2 separate regions of the Homo sapiens genome follow, and region 2 is linked to region 1. The links are contacts of gene promoters, found by promoter capture Hi-C in human tissues and cell types (Jung and others, 2019). All regions are on one chromosome and are shown on one strand. The core of a region is centred on a gene start or on the middle of the fragment in contact, and the rest is flanking DNA. Distances in the headings are between cores, read along the strand shown. Region 1 holds the start of CNGB3 (cyclic nucleotide gated channel subunit beta 3). Region 2 overlaps CNGB3-AS1 (CNGB3 antisense RNA 1).

Region 1 (5,736 bases), core at 2,246-4,745:
TAAGAATAATACTTAAATATGTTCCAACCTGAAACTAGATATAATCTTCATTTGCTTATAATTTTTATAGAACCATAAAGCTAAAACTTGTTTGAAAATTTAACATAAAACTTAAAAATCAATAAGATTAAAACAATGCTGTCTGTAAGATGGCTAATGCTCTGCTGAAAATAAAATTACTAGTCACAACAAGAATATGGAACTGTTTGCTAATGATGATAATCTTTTTGTTTTAGCATAGCTTTATTACCATCTGATTTGTATTTTACGTGTTATATTCCTATGTGCCATCTGTATACCATCTACGGTATCTAAGACACCATTTGTTTTAAAACATACCATTATTTTATGCATGCTTCTCTCAGCCTATCCCAACTTCAGCCTGCAATGGCTACTAATAAAAAACAATGAGGCTACAACATTTGCATTCTTCCAGGGAGATTTTTTCCACTTCTCTTACACACTGCATCTACCACAGAGAATCTCTTCACTGTTAATCTAGAACTAAGAGATGGTCTATACCATCTTCTTCCTGTTATTTATTCAACAAACATTCATGGAGTACCTAGAATATGTCAAGCACTGAGCTGGGCACAGGAATCTGAAGGTGGCCAAAGCATAGTCTCTGCCTGCAGGAGCTTATGCTCTAATAGAGAAAATAGACCTGGACATGGCTGTAAAATGAGAAGTGACAAAGTAGAGATCTCTGTATGGCACAGATACAATTGCAACAAAAAGACAGGATTATAGGTATAGCTGTCCATGGTAGAAGAGAGGAACGGTAGGAGAAGGAAACACCAAGCTTAAGCTAGATAGACAAGAAGTGGAACAGCGTTGCAGGCAGGGGAACAGTACACATGAGCAAAGACATGGGTACAGGCAAGAAAAAGCAGAGAAGTTCAAGCTATTTTAAATTACTGATTATGGCAAGAGCCAAAAGAGAGGTCGGGGTTACAGATTAAACTAGAGTTAGGCAAAGGTCAATGATATAAGGCCGGGAATGTCCTGGTAAGGAGTTTATACATTTATGCTGTAGAGAAGGAGGAGTGGCTGAGGGGCTTCAGTTAGACAAACAGTCCGTTATATTGAAGAAAAATTGTTTTTATTCCCATTGTCATACACTACCTCAGCAATATGGCAACTTGGTACAAAAAAATTAAATTGTTATTGGTGAAATTCTAGTAAGCCATTTCACCCAGAATAAGCAACCCTCCTTCTTCCCTTATCTTCTTGCTGATTAGAAGAGCTCCTCTGTGGAAGACCACAAATCACAGAATTTAAAACCAGAAGAAAACAAACATTGTTTTTTCCCAACCTAGTTATTTCCAGGTTAAGGCAAGAGATTTACTTTAGTCCACAGAGCTACTAAAGTGAAAAAGAATGATCCAAAATTCATGTCCTTCATTCCAGAATTCTTTCTAGTTGTCCATTTTCCAAACTTTGAGACCTCTGATCTAGACAAAATAAAAGTAGTCATTTATAATTTTAATGCCCATGTTAATGCCACTCTATTGTCAAAAATCAGGTTGTTGGAGGTATTTTAAATCATTTTAAAGGTGCTTGAATTATTTAATAATATCTCCATCCCATTTATTCTGACCTGTGACAAATCTAAAGGGTTAAATTGTCAAAACAGACTAGCCAGAATCACAGATCTTACATAGCACCAAACTTTATTAATGATTCGTTGGCTACAAGCCGCCATCAGGAATAAACAAAACATTCATTTTGGGAAAAACCCCAAACTGTCAGACACAGCATCCAAACAAAACAGACCATTTTTCTCCTGCAGTTGGCATATTTTGGTTTTGCATTTACAAGTAATTTTTGAGCATTGTCTGCAAAAACATTTCTCACAAAAAGAAGGCAGTTTGGTTTGGGGACATCTTCGTTCCACATTCTCTTACAGAGCTTACATAGCACCTCTCTCTCCATTCTCCAGCCAGCCTGCTAAATTCCAGGCTTATTTACAATAAGCAATCTAGACAGACCAGAAATGTCCTGCTAAAAAAGTTTCATAAATAGGGACTCCCTGGTATCTTTCCACTGATAAATACTATGAGATTTATACGAAAGTCTGGTGAGGTCATTTTTTCCTCTGCAGGTCTTAGGAAGGGAAAAAATTAGTCACAGGCTGGCTGTTAACACCTTCCCTTCCTTTGGCTTAGCTTCTATGCTTATACCCAAAGTTCAAAATGTAATCAATTACAGGATTACAGGATTATCTGAAAAGTTCCTAAAATGGCCCTATACATATTTGATAATCTATTCAGAATTATTTCTGAAGCAATAATGGAACCAAAACACCCCCCACCATTTTTTAACAAAAATAAATAGCTTTGTGTTTCCAGGCCATATAAGTCAAATCATGTATTCAATTACGTTATTTATTAGGTAAGTTTATTTTTGATAAAATGGTTGAATCTAAAATTAAAACTTCTAATTTATTTTAAAAATCCATAAGGGAACTGCGATTTTGGTAATATGAAATCTAAATTAAAATGCTTTCTTCATAAATACTTAAAGGCTTTTTTCTGTATTAACTGTAATAAACGTATCTTAAAATACATAACTAGTATCTCAAGGAAATTTCCAGATTGCAAAAATACAGAGGGCAAGAAGTATTTGATGGGTTGACTTAGGCTGCCCTGGGTGTGGGTGTGTACCTTGTTGCATAAAGGCTTTGGTTTTAATTTGAAACTGCAGAAGATAAGTGCTCTCATTAAAAACAAAAACAAAAACAGAACCCCTTTAAAAAAAATCATGCGTCTTTGGTGCACTAAAAAATCTCATCCAACAGCATAGAACATCAACTTTGTCTGGGCTCCGGGCAAAGGGGAAAAAAAAGTTCTCTTTAACAAATCTTAGTCTTGTATCTTTGCCTCACACAGGTTTGGGGTCAAAAGTGACACACACACACACAGAGGCAGAGTAGAATAAGCAGATTTTTTTTTGTTTAGCCATGTGGAAATCAACCACCAGAAGAACAGAAAAAGAAAGCTTAAAAATAGTGGCCTAACATTGCAGGACCAGAGAAGGGGATTTTGAGGAGTGAATGAGTTGCTTCATATCATAAGCCCTCATGGATTTTTTTTAATCATTTCCATATTACTTTGCATAAAGTTAGACAGATAAAGATAAGTAGGTGGGTAATTAGAAGGAAAAAAAAAGAAAGAAAACAATGTGTTGTGTGATCACATTTAAACCATTCAAATCAACTATGAAGCTGTGTTTAATCCTCTACTTCTAAATTATTCACAAGATCATTTTGACTCCCTAAAGTTCATAAACAGAGTGCAAATCACCCAAGCAGAAGTATTTTGCTGCTTTTAAGCCAAAGCCCTGACTAGCTAAGGAGTTGCCTGTAGGAATTAACCAGAACAAAATCCTGATTAAACAGCTAATTGGCTTGTCTACTAAAGAAAAGGAAAACAAAGTACATTTCTCTACCTTAAGGCACAGTCATAAATACAGAGGGTTTTCAGAACCACCTCAGAGAAGATGTTTAAATCGCTGACAAAAGTCAACAAGGTGAAGCCTATAGGAGAGAACAATGAGAATGAACAAAGTTCTCGTCGGAATGAAGAAGGCTCTCACCCAAGTAATCAGTCTCAGCAAACCACAGCACAGGTATGTCCTCTACATTCCTATGCAAGCCTTGATTTTCATCATTTCTTATCTGGTAATAGCATTTAATCACTGCTACGATATATGATTGTTTAGTAGTTTTACCTGGCACCATCTGGTACATGTACTGTGTCGGGCTTATCTTCATTAATTTATATATTCTGTATGTATTTGTTCATAAAAAGAATAATAAATGTTTAGGAGACTATACTAGGATTTGGAAAAGCCAAGTAAGACTTCTCATTGCTGATTTTCACTTCTACCATCATCCAAAATGAAACCATTTCTCAAATATTAAATTGGTTACTTGATTGAGTTTCAACAAAGAACATCAAGTATCCTGGTCTTCATAAACCACATGTTAACAATAAATCTCTAGAGCAATAGGAAACCTATTGGCTCTCAATTGAGAGCGATTTTACCACTCAAGGGACATTTGGCAAATCTGGGGACACTTTCAGTTGTCATAGCTCCGGGGTGGGGATGTTACTGGCATCCAGTGGGTAAAGTCTGCAGATGCTGCTCAACATCCTATCATGTACAGGACAGCCCTCCACAACGTAGAATTATACACTACAAAATTTTAATACTGCCAAGGTGGAGGAACTTTAAACAAGCCTTTTCACAAGTTCTAAATATATTTTTCTGCAAAATGTATATGATAATTTCTGCTTTGTTATGAGAACTAGAGACAGTAATATATAAAGCACATGGTAGGTACTTTACAAGTGGCTATTATTATTATTAATAAGAATTTGTGTTTCTGTGACAGGTTTAAGTCCTAAGTGATCATTACAAGAGCAATATTTACTTAGAACTATCCACAGAATAATTTTCGTGAATTACTCACTAGAATTATCTAAAAGAGCTACAGAAGATTTTTAGAGCAGTAGTTATTTTGCCATCTGAAACAGCTGGATGAGAGATGACAAGTACAAGCAGGAGTGCTCCTCAGGGACTAGGGGAGCATAGTCCAATGGTTCGGGTTTAAATGAGCCTAGAGGATAGACAACACTGAGACTATTTAACATGGGCCGTGGAAAATCTGCCTTCCTTTTCTGATTAATGTTGACTGCTTTGCAGTAGAGAGGAGATGAGGAGGACTGTGTTAGTATTGCTTCGAGAGAGTGCCCTTGACTTCTTTCTAATTCTTATGTCAAAATAAATAATCCCACACTAAGTTATCTATATGTTTAAGAACTCATACAATGTCACAAATATTGAGCTGGTACTTTCCTTCAGCTAGTCTTGCTGTGTTTTGCTCTGGGAAAGTCACTACATCCATCTTTAACCCTTGCCTACTGTGATTATTTTCCAAGGGAGCACATAAAAACCGTTAATAGCTAATATATTATTCTCTTGGAGAACATTGTAACTAACAGCAATTACTATTTGCCAAGCAAGGTGCTAAGCCCTTTTCTAGGGCTACTGTATTTAATCCTCACAACAGTCACAGGTCCTATTACAATTTGCTCCTTACACATAGCTAGCAAATGGCAGAGCCTGGATTGGAACCAAGTCCTATCTGAATTCAGCACCTGAGAGCTAAATCACTAGGCTATACTGCTCAAAACAGGAGGGATATTAGTTGAGTCAACCCTTTAAGATACTTTGCCTGCAGGATAAACGGAAATTAGAGAGAAGGCGAAAAAAGAAGAGAAACTTCTTAAAGAGTTATCTTTCCTTTCAAAACAGGAATATTGGAGAAGTACTTAGATTAGGCACAGGTAGAGCACCCCTTAGGTATATCCCATGCCATTCCAACAGCCATAATTTGTGGATATTAATCGCGAAGTCTACTGGCATCACATTAGATTTTTTTTTTTTGTTTTTTTTGAGACAGAGTCTCATTCTGTCGCCCAGGCTGGAGTGCAGTGGTGCAATCTTGACTCGCTGCAACCTCTGTGTCCTGGGTTCAAACGATTCTCCTGCCTCAGCCTCCCGAGTAGCTGGGATTACAGGCACATGCCACCACACCCAGCTCATTTTTTTGTATTTTTAGTAGAGACGGGGTTTCACCATGTTGGCCAGGCTGGTCTCAAACTCTCGGCCTCAGGTGTTCCGCCCACCTTGTCCTTGCAAAGTGTTGGGATTACACGCATGAGCCAC
Region 2 (5,736 bases), core at 1,490-3,989, 40 kb before region 1:
GGGCATAGTCAACAAAATTTGTTAAGGCAGTCAATTTATTTAGTTGATAGAAGATTTAAAAAATTCAGGTAAGATGTAATCTCAGACTTCCAGGATGAGGTTAGAAAATGTCTCCCTGAAAAACTAAAGTCAATAATGAATTATATACATCGAATGATATTAGAAATATAAAAAGTAAAACCCACTCCCCAAGGAGGCATATTTGGGCTAGGAAATGAATAGCATATTGGAAAGAGCAATATTTGTATTTGGAAGATCTAGATTTAAACTTGAACTCTGCCATTTGCTACCTGTGCTCTCACCTTCTCTTTCTTCTCTTTTTTCTTTTATTTATTTTTCTTTCCCTTCTTTGTTTGACTCATATTTATAAAATGCTACTTTGAGCCTAGAATTTGGCTGGTGGCAAAAAGGAAAGTGCATATGGTGGGGAAGAGAGGGAACACTAAGCAGGGACTTAAAGGGAAATGGCATTTCAGGCTAAGATAGAATACACTGTGTCATGATGGTGAGAAAGAAGAAAGCCTATGAGAAGAATTACAACCCCCCAATCTATGTATCTAGCTGAACTAAGATTTCAAGCATAAATGTCCAATTCCAAAAGAAGAAGAGTATAAAGAGACAATGCCAACAGGTAAGATTTTAAAAGATCAAGGGAATTCTACAAGGGAAACAAGCAGTGCTTAGAGAAGTGTGACACCTAGGAGTTCGTAGTGTCCAGCAAGAAAGGAATTGAGAATCTCAGAAAAGAAAGATAAAGAGAGCCAAATATATCTACTAAGATTTGAGCTGAAAAAAAAAATAAGGACAAAGTGAGTAACATGGAAGAATAAGAAACCCAAGCCCTCATTCCTTCATACAGACACCAAATCAACAACAATATGTGCCCCAAAAAACCTCTATGAGAACTGCAGAAACGAGTTAGGAAGTCACAGTACCCCAGACAAGCCCAAAACCAAGAATAGCTGCATTAAAATGGGTAAGAAGAGTCATTTTATTTCAGCCATGCCAGCCCCTTCCCCAAGCTAGCACAGGGCAATGGGAGTAAAATCCCAATTTGAAACTTCTCCTTGAGAGAGAAAGGAAGAGTAGAAATTAATTTTCAAGGGGGTGCCTGAGGTGCTGGTTTCTGTCTCGCCTGACTCAGCAATTATAAGGAATTGCTATTACTTGGGATGCCTGGAGCTGCTGAAAACAACACAGAGCTCAGCAGCTTATGGCACTACCGGAAAAATTGTAATGCCACAGACAGAAGCTGCCACAGCTCACTGAGATCAGGAGAAATTACCCAGCTAGTAGCTTCTCCCTTGGGAACAAAAGAGAAGAGTGGAACAAGTATTCAATGTTCCAACTTTCTGAAGGGCTGTTCAACAAACTGGTTTCTGTCTTGTCTGATTCGGATTGCTTACAGAACTGGCATACTTTAGATGCCTAGAACCTCAGAAAACAAAAGAGAGCTCATCAGCTTGTTGCAGTACCACAGACAGACAACAGAGGAAGCAAGAGACCACAAGCCCCTGAAAAAGAAATGAGAAAACTTCTCTAATAGGGAAATTACACGTGCTTATTTTTATACCAGTACCATGCTATTTTGATAACTATAGCCTTGTATTATATAGTTCGAAGCCAGGTAATGTGATGCCTCCAGATTTGTTCTTTTTGGTCTTGCTTTGGCTATGCAGGCTCTTTTTTGGTTCCATATGAATTTTAGGATTTTTTTTTTTTTTTTTTAGTTCTGTGAAGAATGATGATAGTATTTTGATTGGAATTGCACTGAATCTGTAGATTGCTTTTGGCAGTATGGTAATTTACACAATATTGATTCTACCCATCCAGAGCATGGAAGCTGTTTCCATTTGTTTGTGTCATTTATGATCAGCAGTGTTTTGTAGTTTTTCTTATAGAGATCTTTTTCCTCCTTCCAGAGCAATCAGACAAGATAAAAATATAAAGGGCATCCAAACTGGAAAAGAGGAAGTCAAACTGTTGCTGTTTGCTGATGATATACCTAGAAAACCATAAAGACCCTAAAAAGCCTCCAAATCTGATAAATAAATTCAGTAAAGTTTCAGGATACAAAATCAATGTACACAAATCAGTAGCATGATAATAATAAAATACTTAGGAACATAATTCATTATTTTATCTGTTACATTTTGTTTCTTCTTTATTGAACTTTGTCTTATTTGTCTAGCTTCTGATGTTGAATTTTCCATTTGCTTCCATTCCTTGTTGTTCCATTCAAAATTATAATTATTTTCTACTAGGAATGTTACTAAGAATATAGCTTTGATCATATATTATTAGAGTAAAAATTTTTTGGAGCTGTGTTCAATAGCTGTTATATATCTCTTCCACGTAAGATTTCCTTAGGAGTATACCTTTCACAAATTTCAAAATGGTTTGGCATTTTTTGTTTAAATTTCTTAAAATTAATTTCTAACTTTATTAAATTATAATCTGTGACAGTGATGTACGTTTTCCTTTTGGCATTTATTAATGCTTGTTTGATTTTAACATTAAAGATACTTTAAGAATCTTTTAAGATTTTTTCTTAAGATTTAAATCTTTTTCTTTAAGATTTAAATTTTTTTAAGATTCTTAAAAAAATCTTTTAGTCTTGTCTACTTGGACAAGGCAGCTAACAGTTAAGCAAAAAAAAAAAAAAGGAAGCAGAAATCATATCAGGTTTAAGTGAGGAGTGAGGAAGAAATGCAAACAAGCTGATACAGATTTCCTTGAGCGTCAATTAACTATCTCTTAAATGCAGACGATACTCCACATGTAAGGATTATATGATACAGTGCTTAATTAGGTATAAAGATAGTTCCATGAATTGAATGGCTGCTCCCCACAAAAGACATGTTTAACTTGAACTTACGAATGTTCCAGTTACTTGGAAATTGGGTCTTTGCAAATGTAGTTAAGTTAAAGATCTCAAGACATTGTCCTAAATTAGAATATGCCTTCAATCCAGTGACAAGTGTCCCTAGAATAGAGGAAACATGGGTAAGAAGGCAATTTGAAGATGGAGACAGAGACTGGAGTGATGTGTCTACTAGTCAAGAAACACAAAGGATTACTGGCACCCACCAGAAGCTAGGAGAGGCATAAAATGGTTTTGCCCTCAGAGCTTTAAGAAGGAACCAACCCTGAACTCACCTTCATTTCGGGCTTCTGGCCTCCAGACTGGGAGAAAAAATAGTTCTGTTGTTTTAAACCACCAAGTTTGTGGTAATTTGTTAATGGCAGCACTAGAAAACTGAGCTAGATAGACAATAGTAAGATAACATTGTAGAGATATAGAGAGCTGGCACACAGATCTCTAATACATGGAAATGCCGTTAAATGTTCTATTCCTTCTATTGAGATGGAAATCATTGAAGAAATGGCATTGTTCTGATACTGTGCTCGCTGAGCAACTTATTTTAAGCTTCAGTTCATTCATACTCTCTACCATTGGCCAGAGCGAAGGCTTTCCTTTTTGTGTGTATTTATGACCTTTGGTCTCTATTCCCATTTCCTTCACCTCCTATAGGCATCTATTCTAACATGTTTGATGCTTACCTTTTTATTTGCATGTGTTCTTTTAAAATATTCAGCTTTTCCTCATTTACTACTCTCTTTCAAAATTGTCTTTCCTATTTCTTGCTCTCTATTCTTCCATATCAATTTTAGAATAAGTTTATCATGCTCCTTATAAAAGATAGGTTTTGATTGGAATTTCATTGAATTTATAATTAATAAGAGAATGCACATACACATCTTTATCATATTAAGCCATCCCATTGAAGATTATTCTTTTTATTCAAATTTATTTATGATTTATTATTTATTAATTTATTATTCTCTTTTTATTCAAATTTTAAAATATACTTTAATAGAGCTTTTGAATTTTCTTCATAAATGTTTTATATATTTTTTAATATGTTTATTCCTATAAGGTCTATGAATTTTGTGGCTATTGTAAATACTTTATTTCTGGTTATATTTTCTAGATGGTCATAGTATAGAGAAATGTTATTGATTGTTAAATGTTGAGGTTCTGTCTGGCAATTTTGCATATGCATTCTGAATTTGTCTCTTGATTCTGTTGGATTTTTTTCCTGTGTAGATGTACTGGGTTGAACAGTGTTCCCCCAAAATTTATATCCACCCTCTCCCTAAGACTGTCACTCTTTTTGAAACAGGGTCTTTGCCAATGTAATTAGTGAAAATGAGGTCATAGTGGATTAAGTGGGCCTTAAATCCAATGACTAATGTCCTTATAAGAAGGCCATGTAAAGACACACAGATGAAGAATTCAGCCATGTGATAATGAAGACAGTGATTGGAGTGCTGTGTCAAGAAGCCAAGAATGTCAAGGATTCCCAGCAACCACCAACACTAGGAAAGAGGCACAGAACAGATTGCCCCTCAGAGCCTCCTGAAGGAACCCTGCTGACACCTTGACATTGGACTTCTGGTCTCATGAAATGTGAGAGAATAAATTTCTACTGTTTCAAGTCACCCAGTTTGCGGTAATTTGTTATGTCATCCCTAGGAAACTGACATACAAGTTGAGCACCCCTAATCCAAAAATCCAAAATCTGAAATGCTCCCAAATCCAAAACCTTTTGAGCACAAACATGACATAACAAGTGGAAAATTCCACACCTGACCTCACGTGACAGGTCACAGTTAAAACTTTGTTTTATGCACAAAGTTATTTAAAATATTATATAAAATAAACTTCAGACGATGTGTATAAAGTGTGTATGAAACATAAATAAATTTCTTGTCTGGACTTGGGCCCCATCTCCAAGATACCTTATTAGGTATATGCAAATATTCCAAAAAAATTAAAATCTGAAACACTTGTAGTCTCAGTCATTTTGGATGAGAGGTACTCAGCTCGTAGAAGATAATCACAATATCTGCAAATAACAGATACATCTCTCTCCTACTAATCCTTATACCTCTTTTATTCTTTGCTTTACTTATGGTATTTGCCATAACAGCCAGTATTATGTAAAACATTTGACACTGACAGTGGAAATTCTTGTCTTATTTCTGATCTTGAAGAAAATATGTCATTTTTACATTAAGTATACCTGTTGTATTAGTCCATTTTCACACTGCTGATAGACACACCTGAAACTGGGCAATTTACAAAAGAAAGAGGTGTATCGGATTTACAGTTCCTCATGGATGGGGAGGCCTCACAATCATGGTGGAAGGCAAGAAGGAGCAAGTCATGTTTTACGTGGATGGCAGCAGGCAAAGAGAGAGGTTGTGCAAGGCAACTCCCATTTTTAAAACCATCAGAGCTCATGAGACTCATTCACTATCACCAGATCAGCATGGGAAAGACCCACCCCCATAATTCAATCATCTCCCACCAAGTCTCTCCCACAACATGTGGGAATTATGGGAGCTACAAGATGAGATTTTGGTGGGGACACAGAGCCAAACCATATCATTCCACCCCTGGCCCCTCCCAAATCTCATATCTTCACATTTCAAAATGAATCATGCCTTCCCAACAGTCCCCCAAAGTCTCAACTCATTTCAGCATTAACTCATAAGTCCACAGTCCAAAGTGTCATCTGAGACAAGGCAAGTCCCTTCCACATATAAGCCTATAAAATCAAAAGCAAATTAGTTACTTCCTAGATACAATGGGGGTGCAGGCATTGGATAAATACAGCCCTTCCAAATGGGAGAAATTGGCCAAAACAAAGGGGCTACAGGCCCCAT

What was found. The method cuts DNA at HindIII sites, captures the fragments that hold promoters and counts their contacts. A contact is called where the count stands out against the background at its distance.
Region 2: a fragment that was not itself captured here is called in contact with the fragment with the promoter of CNGB3 in region 1 in 3 of the 25 tissues and cell types used here (H1 embryonic stem cells, mesendoderm cells and neural progenitor cells).

What each region holds. Positions count from the first base shown.
Region 1 is chr8:86,741,393-86,747,128 of GRCh38, reverse strand. CNGB3 (cyclic nucleotide gated channel subunit beta 3) reads left to right here and starts at 3,495. Exons shown (of 18, transcript NM_019098.5): 1 at 3,495-3,630. The coding sequence starts at 3,502. The HindIII fragment of the contact is 5,975 bases long and covers 1,902-5,736 here.
Region 2 is chr8:86,781,123-86,786,858 of GRCh38, reverse strand. CNGB3-AS1 (CNGB3 antisense RNA 1) reads right to left here. Exons shown (of 5, transcript XR_001745726.1): 5 at 2,885-2,986. Among named protein-coding and RNA genes, the nearest start is that of CNGB3-AS1, 21 kb to the right of the region's middle. The HindIII fragment of the contact is 7,048 bases long and covers 1-5,736 here.